Regions from separate parts of the Homo sapiens genome. Here all the other regions are linked to region 1. The links are contacts of gene promoters, found by promoter capture Hi-C in blood cells and fetal thymus (Javierre and others, 2016). All regions are on one chromosome and are shown on one strand. The core of a region is centred on a gene start or on the middle of the fragment in contact, and the rest is flanking DNA. Distances in the headings are between cores, read along the strand shown. Region 1 holds the start of YAF2 (YY1 associated factor 2). Region 2 overlaps PRICKLE1 (prickle planar cell polarity protein 1). Region 3 overlaps PPHLN1 (periphilin 1).

Region 1 (4,544 bases), core at 1,510-4,009:
TAGGAAAATAACAGATAACAGAGAAATTAGAGCTCTTAGGTTTAACTTAGAGCCAAAATCAAAAGAGAAGAGAATTCAGAGAGAGGAAGGAAGAAGCTGAGAGGGTCGTGGTGTAGAACACTTACTTTCAGGAACACAGTGTCCCTTAGATTTCTGGTGAGTTGCCCAGAGCCTCTTCAGTTTCAATCCAAATGACAATGCTTCTCTGAGTCCTCCTCAAGTAATGTTTCCACCACTAAAAATTGGATCTACAAGAGCTTAGATGTACTGGTAAAAAAAAAAAATGTCAGGGGCCCCCATGTGGGCCTCAAGCCTCTTTTAAACTAGGCCCACTTCTCTGTCCTGGGCCAACTCCCCTGTGTACTATATTCCTTCTTCTTCCAGGTGCCAGGTATTCAGCCTGTTTCTTCTCTTCTGAGCTGCCACCACCTACTCTATTTCTCAGGGTTCCTCTAACCCCAAGACTGGCTGTGGAGTAGGACACCAGCTTCCCCCCTTCCTTGCTGTCCCTGCAAATAAACATATAGGCTCTTCTAGTTTCAGTATTTTTCTAATGGCTACAAGAAAATAGAGAGGGAACAACAAAAAGCAATAATATATAGTACCAGAGATCAAGATTATAATTGTTTCCACTTTAATGTTCCTGCCTCCAAAAAACGAATTTTCTAAAAATTGCTTATTGAGCATTTTAAAAAGCACAAAGTACTAACACAGATACACAAATATACTCTAAACCAACTCCAACCTTACACAGCCAAGAAGATACTCTGCTTTTCAAAATACTTAAATCACAAATCACGGGTCCAAAAATAGTAACCACAATCATTTTAGCAAATACTTTTTTTCTTTTTGGAATGTTCTGTTGTAATCCCTTAAATTTAGCATACGTTTGAAAGTTTGCTTTTTGAATATGAAAAATGTACGAAATATTTTATCAATTGTGGGAATATACAAAAAGCATATGATGATTTACAAAAAACAAGCATGTCAAAACCAGCGAGCTTCACTGAGAAATTTTTCAGATAAGTTACTGTCAACCATTCCTGTCTCTAAATTTTAAACTTAATAAAATTCTGTAAAGTGTTTTTTAAAAAATCAAGATCTCATTTTTTAGAAATCTAACGTCTACTGAATATTTGTATATGTCAATATTACATGTGCCTTCTTTTTTAAAGCAACAGTAAGATTAGTATGCTTATTGTTATAGTTTAGTTTCTAATGGACTTTGTAATATCAAAATACATATCTTCTCTAAATATTAAGTAATAAATCACAGGATTATATTTAATTCAAAGGGTACCTTCGTATAAGAATCAAGGAGCTCGATAACTAAGTGCTGACAGATTAAGAATGCCACTGACTGAATTTCCTGGATGATTTTCTTTATTCACTTAATTCAAAGTCATTTTTTAAAAGACAGAGTTATTATACTGCAAGCTTACAATAAATAAAGTCTGAAAATAGGCAGAGATCTTTTCATCTCATTTGTCTAAGAGACTGCCATTTAATCAAACTAAAGATATAAAGGTACTTTCAGTAAAAATCTGTTCCTGTGACTGGGCTCATCTCCAACTACTTATTTATAAAATATTAGAGTACTGGAATAAAAACACTAAATAAAACCTTGATCTGACCCTTCCAGAAGTACATGTAGAAAAATAAGTTTTAATATATTGTGTATTCTGCAATCAGATACTTTTCTTTCTTTAGGAACGAAATTAAATTACATCCTTTGCTCCTAAAGAGATTTTATGGGTTTTCCTTGATCCCCACACACTAACACAACAATGCAGCCAACATTTTTATACCCAGAATGGGGAGAGGGGCATTACACCCAGCGATACGAATTAAATCGCAGTAGCTAATGCCTCCCTTAAATAATTTATTCTCTCTTGGCAGCAAAAAACGTTACAGCCTCTTCAATTACCCCTCACCGCAAACCATCGCCTGGGTTGCGATCAATGTGACCCAGTTCCTATCGCCACAGCCACCTCCGTCTGCCTCCTCCCGCCGGGTCCGCCAGTGTCATGGGAGGGGGCGGCAGCCGCAAGGGCGTCCTCTGGTCGCCACCCCGCCGGCCGGCGGCGCGAGGGGCAGGCCCGGGACTCACCGGGTGGAGGTGCCCTTCCGCACATCGCACATCATGCACTTGAAGGCCTCGGCGCTGTTCCGGAAGGTGCAGACGCTACAGTCCCAGTAACCCTCATCCGAGGACGGCTTCGGCTGCCGCTTCGGCCTGCAGGACACAACCCGGACACGACGCGGCGCGGGGTCACCAGCAGGCCGCGCCCGGTGCCCGGGCCCCGCGGCCGCCCCCGCCCCGCCCCCCGCCCCAATTCTGCGACCCCCGCCCCGCGGGCCCTCGGCGCGCCGCGCTCCGGCTGAGGGGGAAGGGAGTCAGGAAGAGGCAGGGCGCGAGCGCGGCCGCAGTCGCCGCCGCCACAGCCGCTCTGACACCCGGGCGGCCGCTCCGGTCGCCGCCGCCATCGCGGCTCCATTGTGGGGCGGCCGGCGCCGGCCCCCTCAAGCGGCAGCACTCGCACACCAGCGGCGCTGCCCCCGTGCTCGCCCCGGTGCCCGGGCGGCTAGCGAGGCGGCCACCCGAAGCCCTGCACGAGGGCCCTGCCGCCCGCACAGTCCGGGCCCCGGGGCCCGGGCGCTGTTACCTGGTGGGGCTCTTCTTGTCTCCCATGGCTTGGCTATCACCGCACGCCGAGAGTCGCCGCCGCGACCGCTCTGTTTGTCAATAAGGAGGATAATAAGCCGGGCGGAAGCGGGCGGGGGAGGAGGGAGGGAGGGGGCGGGGAAGGCCGCACCGCCGCGCTCGGGAGCCGCCGCCGGATCCCACGCAGCCTCCAGCTGTCGGGGAAACTCCTGCCTGGGCGCACGTGACCCTCGCCGGCCAACCAGCAGCCGCGCCGGAGACTTCAAACGCGGCCAGCGCGGCCCAGCACCCGCGGCGAGTTAGCCGGCGGGCGGTGCGGGGGTGGCCGCGGTGGCCGCGGCTGCCTCGGGCGCCGGCGCCGCCTCTCCGCGCTGTTCCCCCGTTGCCCCCTTGGTACCCCCGGCTGCCGGGGACTGCCTCGCGCTCCAGAGCCCCTCTGAGGAGGAAAACGTCTGTCCCACCGACTGGCAGGGGATGCTCCGTCATCCCGTGCGAAGCCTGGTCCAAGGTAGGGCCGGCCGGCGTTCGGAGGCCTGTCCAGGTCTGGACAGAAGTGCCAGCCCGGGATCTCCAGGTAGAACGACTTTCCTGGCCTCCGCTGTCCTTAGCTACCCAGCCCCCGCCTGCAGTATACCGGGGGGAAGGCGGGAACCAACACGCAGCGCCATTGCTACATGCCTTAAAGCACTGTCTGGTTTATGCACACAGATGCTCTAACAAGTAGGGATTGTCAACCCTAACTTAGAGGAATTGAAATCAAGACTCAAGAGAGATTAGGTGACTTCCTCTAGGCTATATAATTAGAAAATGACAAAGCCAAGAGTCTAACTCTGTTTTAATTCCAAACGCGCCCTTTTGGCCTCTCAGGCCTCTGCAGTAGCTGCTTTTGAAAGAAACCCCTATATACTCATAAGTCCTTTTTAAATATAAGGAGTTTGCATGTCCCCTCAACGCTGTCTGCTAACAAAAGAACACCTTCCCAGGTCTCTACGTCAACATACTAAAGGTCCTCATACTCCAGACTCCAGCAACAGCCATCTAACTGGTCTCCGAAGCTCCACTTCTACCTCCCCAATGTATTCAGTAATCCACAACCAGATTAATAATAAAATGCTGTTAATACTATGCCACCACTCTGATAAAGAACCACTAACGACTTGCCCACACTCCTTAGCCTGGCATTCAAAGGCTTCACACATTTTCCCTACCTCTGCCTCCCTCTCCCATAAGGAAAGCTGCCTCCTGACAAAGAGTGCAGATGAAATTCATTCCCTTACCAGAACCCTTCCTTCATGCACATGGGTTACTTCTGCATAAAGTATATCCCTCTTTAACTGTGCTGTTTCTGTCCATCTTTCTAGGTTTACATCAAGTCCGAATTCATGTAAAATAATTTTATAGCTAAACTACATAGGAAATAATACAGTCAGAAGCCCAGGATTCTCAGCCTGCTTCTCCTGTTTCTTAGCTGATAGACCTTGGAAGTATTGCTTAATTTCTGTAATTCTCAACGTTTTCATATTCTGAATTGCATCTATATGAGATTGTTGTGCGATTAATAATAACATTTTTTGGCCGGTTGCGGTCGCTCACGCATGTAATCCCAGCACTTTGGGAGGCCGAGGCGGGCGGATCACCTGAGGTCAGGAGTTCACAAGACCAGCCTGGCCAACGTGGCGAAACCCCATCTCTATTAAAAAATACAAAAATTAGCCAGCTGTGGTGGCGGGCGCCTGTAATCTCAGCTACTCGGGAGGCTGAGGTAGGAGAATCGCTGGAATCCGAGAGTGAGAGGTTGCTGTGAGCCGAGATCGTGCCACTGCACTCGAGCTTGGGCGACAGAGCGAGACTCCGCCTCTAAGTAAATAAATAAATAACA
Region 2 (4,544 bases), core at 1,165-3,664, 250 kb after region 1:
GAAAGGAAGAAATTGGGCCAAAGACAGTTTTGAGTATTAGGTGATTGACATACCAATACATAAGTACCTTAGGGCAACTCAGAAGGGGAGTGAGGATTTGAGGGATTTCAGGAGAATGAGTTTAATCAGATACATATTGAGGTTGTAACTGTATATCAGGTCTGGTATGATTCCTATTATTCATAATTTTCTTGAACCAAGTCACCAAATCAAAATCATGCAAATAGAAAACAGTAATTGTCAGGGCCTGCCATTGAAAATGAAGTATAAGGTCATATCCCTAATTACATTTTTTTCTCCAATGCAATCCCACTCTAGTTCCTATATGAAGACTACCATGGCATTGTAAGATCCCTATGAAAAAGTATTTCTTGTGTGAACATGCCCAGGGAAGTTAGAAATCCTCTGATCACCAAAAGCCAGAACAGATACTGATTTGTGAAGTCAGTTAGGCCAACATTCCCTAGGTGTCCCCTGCTGCTAAGTGCCATCCGTGGGCTACAAACTGCTTAACAGCTTCTTTGTTAAACTGCTTGTTAACAAGGCCTTAGTGCATGGAAGATGCAGATCACAGGTTCTCCATTCAAAAGCTACTCCAATTCTCCCAGACTACATATGCAGGTGAATTAAATTTAACTACAGACTAATTTAGCAGTACAGAAACATGTCACACATCCATTCTTTTCACAATACAAAATATACCACCCTTATGGATATACACATTTCCTTGTTTAGGATGTCCTTAACTTCAATCGAGATGTGAATTTTCCAGTAAAAGAGACACTAAACTGTCATTTCTTTAAAGGTTTCACACACTCAAGGGGCATTCAGTGCTTACTGTCTACTAAAGACAAAGTCACTGCCAACAAAGCCCAATTCAATTTCACTTATTTGAAAAATAAAAACATAATGAAGTTATCAGGAGATATTGTTTATGAAACATTCCTTTACTAAGTTTTCCATACGAGCAATTAGTGGCATTAGGCCATATGCCCTTTAGTATTTTCTGTATTTTCCAGGTAAACCTCCGTCCAGCATTTTCGAGGTAAACCTCCATCCAGCTTGTACATTTCCCAACAGCTGAGTGGGCTATCACACATCACCCAATGGTCAAGAAACTATCCATTTTTCCAAGAGGAAATGTGGAACTCTTTCAAAGCATTCTAATTTCATGCACAAGTACATTCCATGACAGTAAGAAACAAAAGGAGGAAACATGACGACAAAGCCTGGTCCTCCGCCAGCGCGGCGCTTCTAGGGTCAGATTATCCGCACACGAGTATGTAAAGACAAAATCCAAAATGCATGCCATGGAATGAGGGGCACCACACAAGGCGGTGCTCTAATGAGCCCATTATTTTCCATAATGGGGGATGCAGATATTTTCTCAAAATCGTGTTCTCCTCAGTCTTCTATTGATTTTTTGGATTTCTATTTTCAACAGTGGCCCGAGGAAACGGCAGCCAGACTTGACTCCAATGTACACACAGACTCAGGTTTCGCCCCGTCACCTGTTGGCTCCTGAACAACACTCCTCTTTGTGAAACTTACAGCACCCATTTGAAACAAGTTTCCAGAGAAAACACTTCAAGAAAGTGTTTGAGAAGTCACAAGACTCGAGTTGTAAAAACAAATTCCACACATAGCCTGGCTTATAAGGACACAGACTAACGGGAAAGGCCGAGCTTTTAAAAATGGGGCTGGAGGAAGCGAGAAGGAAAGGATGTCACCGTACTTTGGGAAAACTCAGCCGGCCAATTCTTGATGGGGCTGCCAGTGATGGCTGCAGGGGGTCCCCTGGGTCGTCCCCATCCCCGCCGCCGCAGCAGCAGAGACGCCTCAGAGCGGGCGTCGGCGCCCCCTGGGCCCCGCAAACTCTGCGCTCCAGGCGGCGGCCGCTGCTTAGGCCGCGAGGGGGCGCCCTGGGCCGTGGGTCGACCGGCTCCAGCCCCTCTCTGCGTCCCCGGCCCCAGGAGCCAGAGGCCGAGCTCAGGACGCAGAGGCAGCGAGCGAACCCCTCCTCGGCGCCGACGCGAAGCCCCGAGAGAACAGTGCCCCTTGTCCTCCAGCATAGAACAGTCGCCTTCGAATTCCCCGTTACCCTCCTCCAGCAGAAAGCCTCGCGCCGCTCTTGGCGCCGTGTCACCTCCACGGAGCAGCACTCGCCCTGCGGCTGGACGGTGGGGCCGAGCAGCCACGGGTCCCCACGTCTGTCCCTCAGCTTCCAACGAGAAGCCCCTCGCCGGCGCGCACCCTGCAGCCCTCCCGCGTTCAGTCCCCGCCGCCGGCTGCCATCCAGCCCTGGGACCCAGACAGCGGCTCCCACCTGCGGCCCGGACAGCGGCCGAGCGCGGCCTGCAGCCCCTCGCGGCGCCGGCCCCTGAGCCCTCGGCGCGCACTAGCCGCCCGCCCGCTCTGCGTCTGAAGGAGGCTGGCGGCCCGGAGCGGGAGCGGAGGACTCCCGAAGGAACAGAGGGCTGGGTGCCCTACGAGTCACCCGCACCCACTCATTTCCGGAGGAGACCCCAGCAGGGTGGGGCAGCAAGCACCGGGTCCCCACTACATTGCAGCGGACCGCGCCCCCGGGTCGCGTCCCGGTGCTGGCCCCGCCTGGCGGGCGAGGGGTCGCCCCCGCCCCGCCGTGACGCACTTTCCCCCCCGGCCGGTCCCCGCCGAGCTCCCTGGCGGCGCAGCGCGGCGATCCTCACCCGCTGCAGCCCCTCAGCAGCCGTGAGGCATCCCACAAAAGGTCCTCCAGCTCCGCAGAGACCCTCGGTCCCTGCCGGCGTGACGGACTCTGCTCCCCCGGGTTGGAGTCACCTCGTCCAGGCCACTGCATCCCCCAAGCCCCAGCTCCGCGTCCTTCCAGGATCCTCCTCTGCGGGGAGAAAAACTCGTCTCCGCTCAGCGCCGGGAGCCCGCCTGGGGCCGGCGATCTTCAAAAGTAATCAGAGCCCGCAGTAAAAAAAAAAAAAAAAAAAAAAAAAAAAAAAAAAAAAGTAACCATTTCGTTTCCTGCCGATCCCGCCCTTCGATCCCAGCCGGACCCAGCTCCCCGCTCCCGCCCGCGGGCGGCGCCTGCCCAGCCTGCTCCCGCCGCCGCCCGCTTTCCAGGAACTGTCACTGCTGACCGTGCCCCTGGCCGATCTCCACGAGGTCCCGCGCGCACAATTCCTCGAAAAGTTACCCACCCCCTTGGCCAGCCTAGCGGCTCGAGCACCTACCGCCGCCCGCCCGCTCCATTCTCCCGAGCCCAGTGAGTGAAGCCGCTAAGATGCAAATACCCTAGGACGCTTATGTAAACTTCCCCCTCCCGCAGGTGCACGCGCGGGCCACGAAACGCTGGGAGAATATGAAAGGCCACCTCTTAAAGAAATCATCTCCACTCTGCCCATAACAATGATGTCAGCAAATGGCACATTTAAGCAAGTTCTCACTTAGAAGGGCTCATTAGCATATGAATTCTCTTAGGACTTTCCCTGCATTTCGGAGTGATTCCTACTGCTTAGCGCAGGAGATTTATTTTTATCAGTAAATAACAGCAAAGAAAAGGAGCCAGGTCACGCGATGTACTAACTCAAGTACACTACTGAGAGTTTTTACAAATAGGTTAAGTGAATATCATTATTCAAACACAAGGAAGTGTCCCATACTGAAGCTAATCTTGTTTCTGAGCTATTTGTAGGTACACTGAGAGAAAGTGGAGTTTGGCTTCAGTTGTCTACAGAAAGGGTCAAGAGAAGCAAAACATATCCTCAAAGCAAGCCCAGAAAAAAAATGATAGATTAGTACTCATCAGTAGAGGTCTAATCTCTTCTGAACTACAAATTTTAGTTTCCACTATAGCCTCCTTATCACAAGGTGATAGAAATACCAAGAGAATGAAGGGGAAAATGCAATATTTAAGAGCTTCATCAATTTGTAAAATATCAGTAAATAAAAGCAATTTAAAGTGGTCACCAGTTCCTTTGGTATCTTTTTTTTTTTAAGCTAAAAAATAATCCTGTACCATCAGGATTCCTTGGGATTGATTTGCAACCTATGTGGTTCTACAGTATACACGTGAACAATAGCTCATTGTAACTGTGATTTAAAAATACATAAACAAGTTGCCATAAATAGATCAGTCAAGTAAATCACTCTGTGGCCAAATTCTGTTATCTCAGCTACAAAGTAAGGCAGCTGAGAAGTTTTTTTTTTTTTTTTTTTTTTTTTTTTTTGTTACTCTCTTAAAGTGGCAGAAACAGAAAAGTTGTGGCTCTGCTGGTAGACTAGTTTGGAAACACTGATTCGGACAACACAATTTGTAATTCAAATAGACTCTTTATTGGCCAAATGGATTCCGGTTTTGAAGACGATTCCCAAAACGTTCTGATATAGAACTCTTCTGGCCTTAGGCCTAGTTTAGGGATTTGTGGGAAGACTTCAAAGGTTACCATTTTCCTCTGTGGATCTGTAAAATTAACCATGAATACCTAGGTCAGATTTCCTTTTTCCTACTTCACTCTGTTTGGGCTTCCTCAGGGAAGATTTCAGCTACCTAC
Region 3 (4,544 bases), core at 1,282-3,781, 170 kb after region 1:
AAGCCTAAACCAAAACAATTGCAGGGATGTGCCTGAAAATATTTTTTAAATATATTATACTCTTCAAATTACAAAAACTTGCCATCTGTAGAAGGACGAGTCTCTCTCTTTTTATTTTTATTTGGTAGATAATAAATGAGAAAAGAACAAGTACCATGAATTCGTTTTTAAACCTCTTTGGCTCTTTCAGAACACTCTCCTAATATAATGCTGTTTTATGAAAATGTTTATTTTTCTACCTATAAGCAGGGGTCCCCAACCCCTGGGCTTGTGGACCGCTACTGGTCTGTGGCCTGTTAGGAACTGGGCGTCACAGCAGGAGGTGAGTGGCCATGGGGAGGGGGGAGGGAGGACAGGGGAGTGAGCATTACCTCCTCAGCTCTACTGCTTGTCAGATCAGTGGTGGCATTAGATTGTCACAGAAGCGCAGACCCTATTGTGAACTGCAGACACGAGGGATCTAGGTTGTGTGCCCTCTCACTCCTTCCGTGGAAAAAATTGTCTTCCTCAAAACTGGTCCCTGTTGCCAAAAAGGTTGGTGTCTGCTGCCTATAAGTATGCTATCTTTTGAAAAAAGAGCTGATTATATATTCATCAGGTAATTTATAGTTAAAATATAGATAGGAATCATTTTAGTTATAGGGAAGGTACCATTTTGAGGTGTTTTTTGTTGTTGTTTGTTTATTTGTTTGTTTTTTGAGACAGGGTCTTACTCTGTCGCCCATGCTGGAGTGCAGTGGCACGATTACACCTCACTGCAGCCACCACCCCCCAGGCTCAAGCAATACTCCCACCTCACCCTCCTGAGTAGCTGGGACTACAAGTGTGTGCCACCACTCCCAGCTAATTTTTTTTTGTATTTTTTGTAGAGATGGGATTTCACCTTGTTACCCATGTTGGTCGCCAACTTCTGGGCTCGAGAGATCTACCCACCTATTACAGGCGTAAGCCACCGCACCCGGCCCATTCTGAGGTTCTTAAACATAAAGAAATAGAGTAATCAGGGACACTTGGGGAAAGGGATTGATTATTTTGGTGTTCTTTTCTTTCTTTTAACTTCAAAACACTTATCCTGAATATTTTTTGTTTCTGTAAAGACAATTTTTATTATAGTCATAGCTATGCCAGCTTTGTTATGTGAAACTTTACTTCTTAGCCATTTAGGAACCCCTTTCCTTATTACAATTAGCTAAGAAAAATTGAGTTAATTCAGACTTTATTTTGTTGATTGTTATTAGCTTTATTAAGAGTCTGTTGTAAGTCTAAATCTACTTAATATATTTTTTATTTTGAATTCCGTACTATCACCATTTGTGCGACTATATGGGCTACTTTACTAGCTTTTCTTCGCTTTTCCCTCCAAATAAAAGGGTTGGGCTGAATAATCTTAGGTCTCTTCCTGATCTAAATCATACTGAAAATTAAAAGTTAAATATTACTTTTTCTGTACACAGTTGTGTGTAGTAATTTCATATTTAACTATAGAATTTTAAGTTTTTTTTTTAAACCTTCTTAAGGACACAGGGCTCTTAAATTAAAATAAGTTTTTAAATAACCTTCGAATATACCACTGTTATGTGTCAGTCAGTAATTAGTATTTGTTGAGTTAATGAATTGTGCAGAGCAGGTTTTCTTCCGTAGATAGGGTGTTAGATTTAATTGTAAGTGTTGTAGCTGTGGCCATTTTCTCTTCTTACAGTGTCTCATTTCAGCTACTACTCATTGTCTGATGATTCCCAACACTCACTAGCTCTTGCTGTTTCTCATATATAATCTGTTTTTGTTTTACATTTAAAGAGGCTAGAAGTAAAGATTAGTGAAATGTACAGTCTTGAAAATGTTAACTAGAGTTGTGGACATGGAAAATAATCAGCTTTTAGCATATGATGCATTCCAATGAAATTGTTTTCAAAGTAGTGGCAGCTGTATCTATTGTTGTAGGTTCAAGATCTAAGCATTTCATAGTAACCTTACATAATAGAAACATTCTTTGTTTTTCCTTTTTATCAGAGCAAGTAACCAATGTTCTTTAAAGTGCAGCTCTCACCACTATCTTGTCTAGACATCAAGTCTACCCTACTGTATTTAACAATCCATTATTACCAACCACTTGTTCAGATTTTACATACATACAGTTAGTAAAATATACTCACATAAGATGTACCTCTGAAAGTCTGGATTCCCAAAACAACTTGAAAAGAGATGATTTATTTTGACCAAATTTCAAAGAGTTTGAAAGTTACAATTTACCAGATTCTGGTCATGCTGTTACTGCAGAAGCTTGTTGAAGTAAAAGTATAAAGTTTTTATTTTAAGAGAATCTAAAAGCTATCTCTATAAGATAATTTGTATCATATTTAAAAGGAAGCATCTCTTAAAGGTAATTTAGTTATTTTGTACCTGATATCTCTTTAAGTGGGAAGCTTGATGAATCTGTTAAGATGTTATATTTACATCAAATATAAAATCTAGATAGTACAGATACCAAGTCTTATTAGAACCATACTTAAAATGATATGAGTACCTTAAGGGATGAGGCCATCTTGCACCTTATCCTTGGGGATGTTACCACTGAAACAAAAAATACCCAGTTATAAAGCAGTTCCAGTAAAGGTAATCCCCATGGCATAAACCCAAGTATAAGCTTCATTTTCTTACCTCTTCTCCTCATCCACTCTCTACCAGTGTTAGGTAAGGATTTTACCTAGTGGTTCCAAATTACTGTCCCATGCTACTCAATTTTGTTTTCTTAGGTCAACAATTTTTTTTAGTCTCTGAGTATTTTATGGTAAGGACATTTATAAATGGCATGGTATAATGAACACTTAGTGTTTTCACATCTTAGAGACCTTTTCCTCTTTTTTTTTTTTCTTTTTTTTGAAACGAGGTCTCACTGCATTCTCTAATTATAAGTTCTCTCACAGAATTGACAACCTATTATATGTGAAAGCCGTTTATGTATGAAAATTACCATACAGGTGGTTAATGGTAGTGTTAAGTAATACTTTCTGCCTGTTTCTTTGCAGCTTTGCAATATTGATTACTTTCAAATTACTTCTTAAGAATATTTTAGGCTGGGCACAGTGGCTCACGCCTGTAATCCCAGCACTTTGGGGGGCCCAGGCGGGTGGATCACTTGAGGCCAGGAGTTCGAGACCAGGCTGGCCAACATAGTGAAACACCATCTCTACTAAAAATACAAAAATTAGCCCAACATGGTGGTGGGTGCCTATAATCCTCGCTACTTAGGAGGCTGAGGCAAGAGAATCACTTGAACCTGGGAGGCAGAGGTTGCAGTGAGCCGAGATTGCGCCCTTGCACTCCAGCCTGGGCAACAAGAGCAAAACTCCGTCTCAACAACAACAACAACAACAACAAAAATATTTCATAGCAAGTTTGTGATATAGGTTTACCTCTGAAAGGTGATTTTCTGGTCAGTGTCAAGGTTTCGACTATTTGCCTCTTACCTCTTCACTTCTTTTGTTTTGTTGTTGTTTATTTCCTTTTCCCCACCTCCTTCCTAATTTGTTCAAAATGAAATGTAAAAATACTATTAAAAAATATTTGTTTTGCAGCCGGGTATGGTGGCTCACACCTGTAATCCCAGCACTTTGGGAGGCTGAAGCAGGCGGATCACAAGGTCAGGAGTTCAAGACCAGCCTCACCAACATGGTGAAACCCTGTCTCTACTAAAAATACAAAATTAGCCGGGCGTGGTGGCCCATGCCTGTAATCCCAGCTACTCAGGAGGCTGAGGCAGGAGAATCGCTTGAACCCAGGAGACAGAGGTTGCAGTGAGCCAAGATCATGCCATTGCACTCTAGCCTGGGTGACAGAGTGAGACTCCGTCTAAAAAAATAAAAATAAAATAAATTTTTTTTGCTTATTTTGGGGGACTTTGTGATTTTGCTTTCACATTTTTCATTTGGCTTGCTCTTTTTATCTCAGTGTTCCTTATCTGTTTTGCTTGTATACACATAGCATAAAAAGATTAATGTTTCCTCCTTAGAATTCTCTACCGTCCTTTTCCTAAAGCATAAGTTGTTCTCATACTTTCCCCTTCATCTGTCATCTCTCATTTTTAAGATGTGATCTGTCTTGAAACATCTGCTGTCCTCTCTTAACTATTGTTTAATTCAGGTATTGTGCCAGGAGAGAACAAATGTGTATGTTTTATATGCACTTGAGTGCTGACTACAATTACAGTGTGAGTTAATTGATATTCTCAGTCCATTTATAAGAAACATTTTAAAAGCTGCACTAAGAAAATCTCATGTTTTACTTAAAGGTAACTTGAAAGTAAACACTAGAAGTGAATTGATGATTGTCTAATGTCTGGTTTATTGGGAGCTAATTATGTTATCTTTCGTTGTTTTTCTTTCCTTACTCTTCCTCTTTCTTTTTGCATTTTTTATGTTTTTGGGGTTTTAAAAAGAAAACCATTATAGGAAATCAGACAATGCAATATATGTTATTTCTGTTTTGAATACTTATTTACATGAGTTAGCTGGGGGAATATTTGTAGGGGTTTTTTGGTCTGCCTG

What was found. Contacts are between HindIII fragments. The CHiCAGO score rates a contact against its expected background, and 5 or more counts as called.
Region 2: a fragment that was not itself captured here is called in contact with the fragment with the promoter of YAF2 in region 1 in 1 of 17 cell types (naive B cells); the score reaches 5.4 in naive B cells.
Region 3: a fragment that was not itself captured here is called in contact with the fragment with the promoter of YAF2 in region 1 in 2 of 17 cell types (non-activated CD4 T cells and activated CD4 T cells); the score reaches 6.0 in non-activated CD4 T cells.

The regions. Positions count from the first base shown.
Region 1 is chr12:42,235,489-42,240,032 of GRCh38, forward strand. YAF2 (YY1 associated factor 2) reads right to left here and starts at 2,760. Exons shown (of 4, transcript NM_005748.6): 1 at 2,667-2,760; 2 at 2,111-2,236. The coding sequence starts at 2,692. It overlaps LOC124902920 (a long non-coding RNA gene), which reads left to right and starts at 2,957. Exons shown (of 2, transcript XR_007063279.1): 1 at 2,957-3,239; 2 at 3,649-3,790. RefSeq lists silencers at 1,886-2,215, 2,336-2,405, 2,506-2,885, 2,936-3,175, 3,366-3,505 and an enhancer at 2,051-2,552. The HindIII fragment of the contact is 7,822 bases long and covers 1,436-4,544 here.
Region 2 is chr12:42,481,050-42,485,593 of GRCh38, forward strand. The region is part of intron 1 of PRICKLE1 (prickle planar cell polarity protein 1); the gene reads right to left. Among named protein-coding and RNA genes, the nearest start is that of PRICKLE1, 110 kb to the right of the region's middle. RefSeq lists enhancers at 228-839, 2,054-2,173, 2,890-3,798 and silencers at 1,864-1,933, 2,324-2,373, 2,444-2,703. The HindIII fragment of the contact is 4,922 bases long and covers 1-4,544 here.
Region 3 is chr12:42,401,175-42,405,718 of GRCh38, forward strand. All of the region lies in intron 9 of PPHLN1 (periphilin 1), which reads left to right. Among named protein-coding and RNA genes, the nearest start is that of PPHLN1, 77 kb to the left of the region's middle. The HindIII fragment of the contact is 221 bases long and covers 2,422-2,642 here.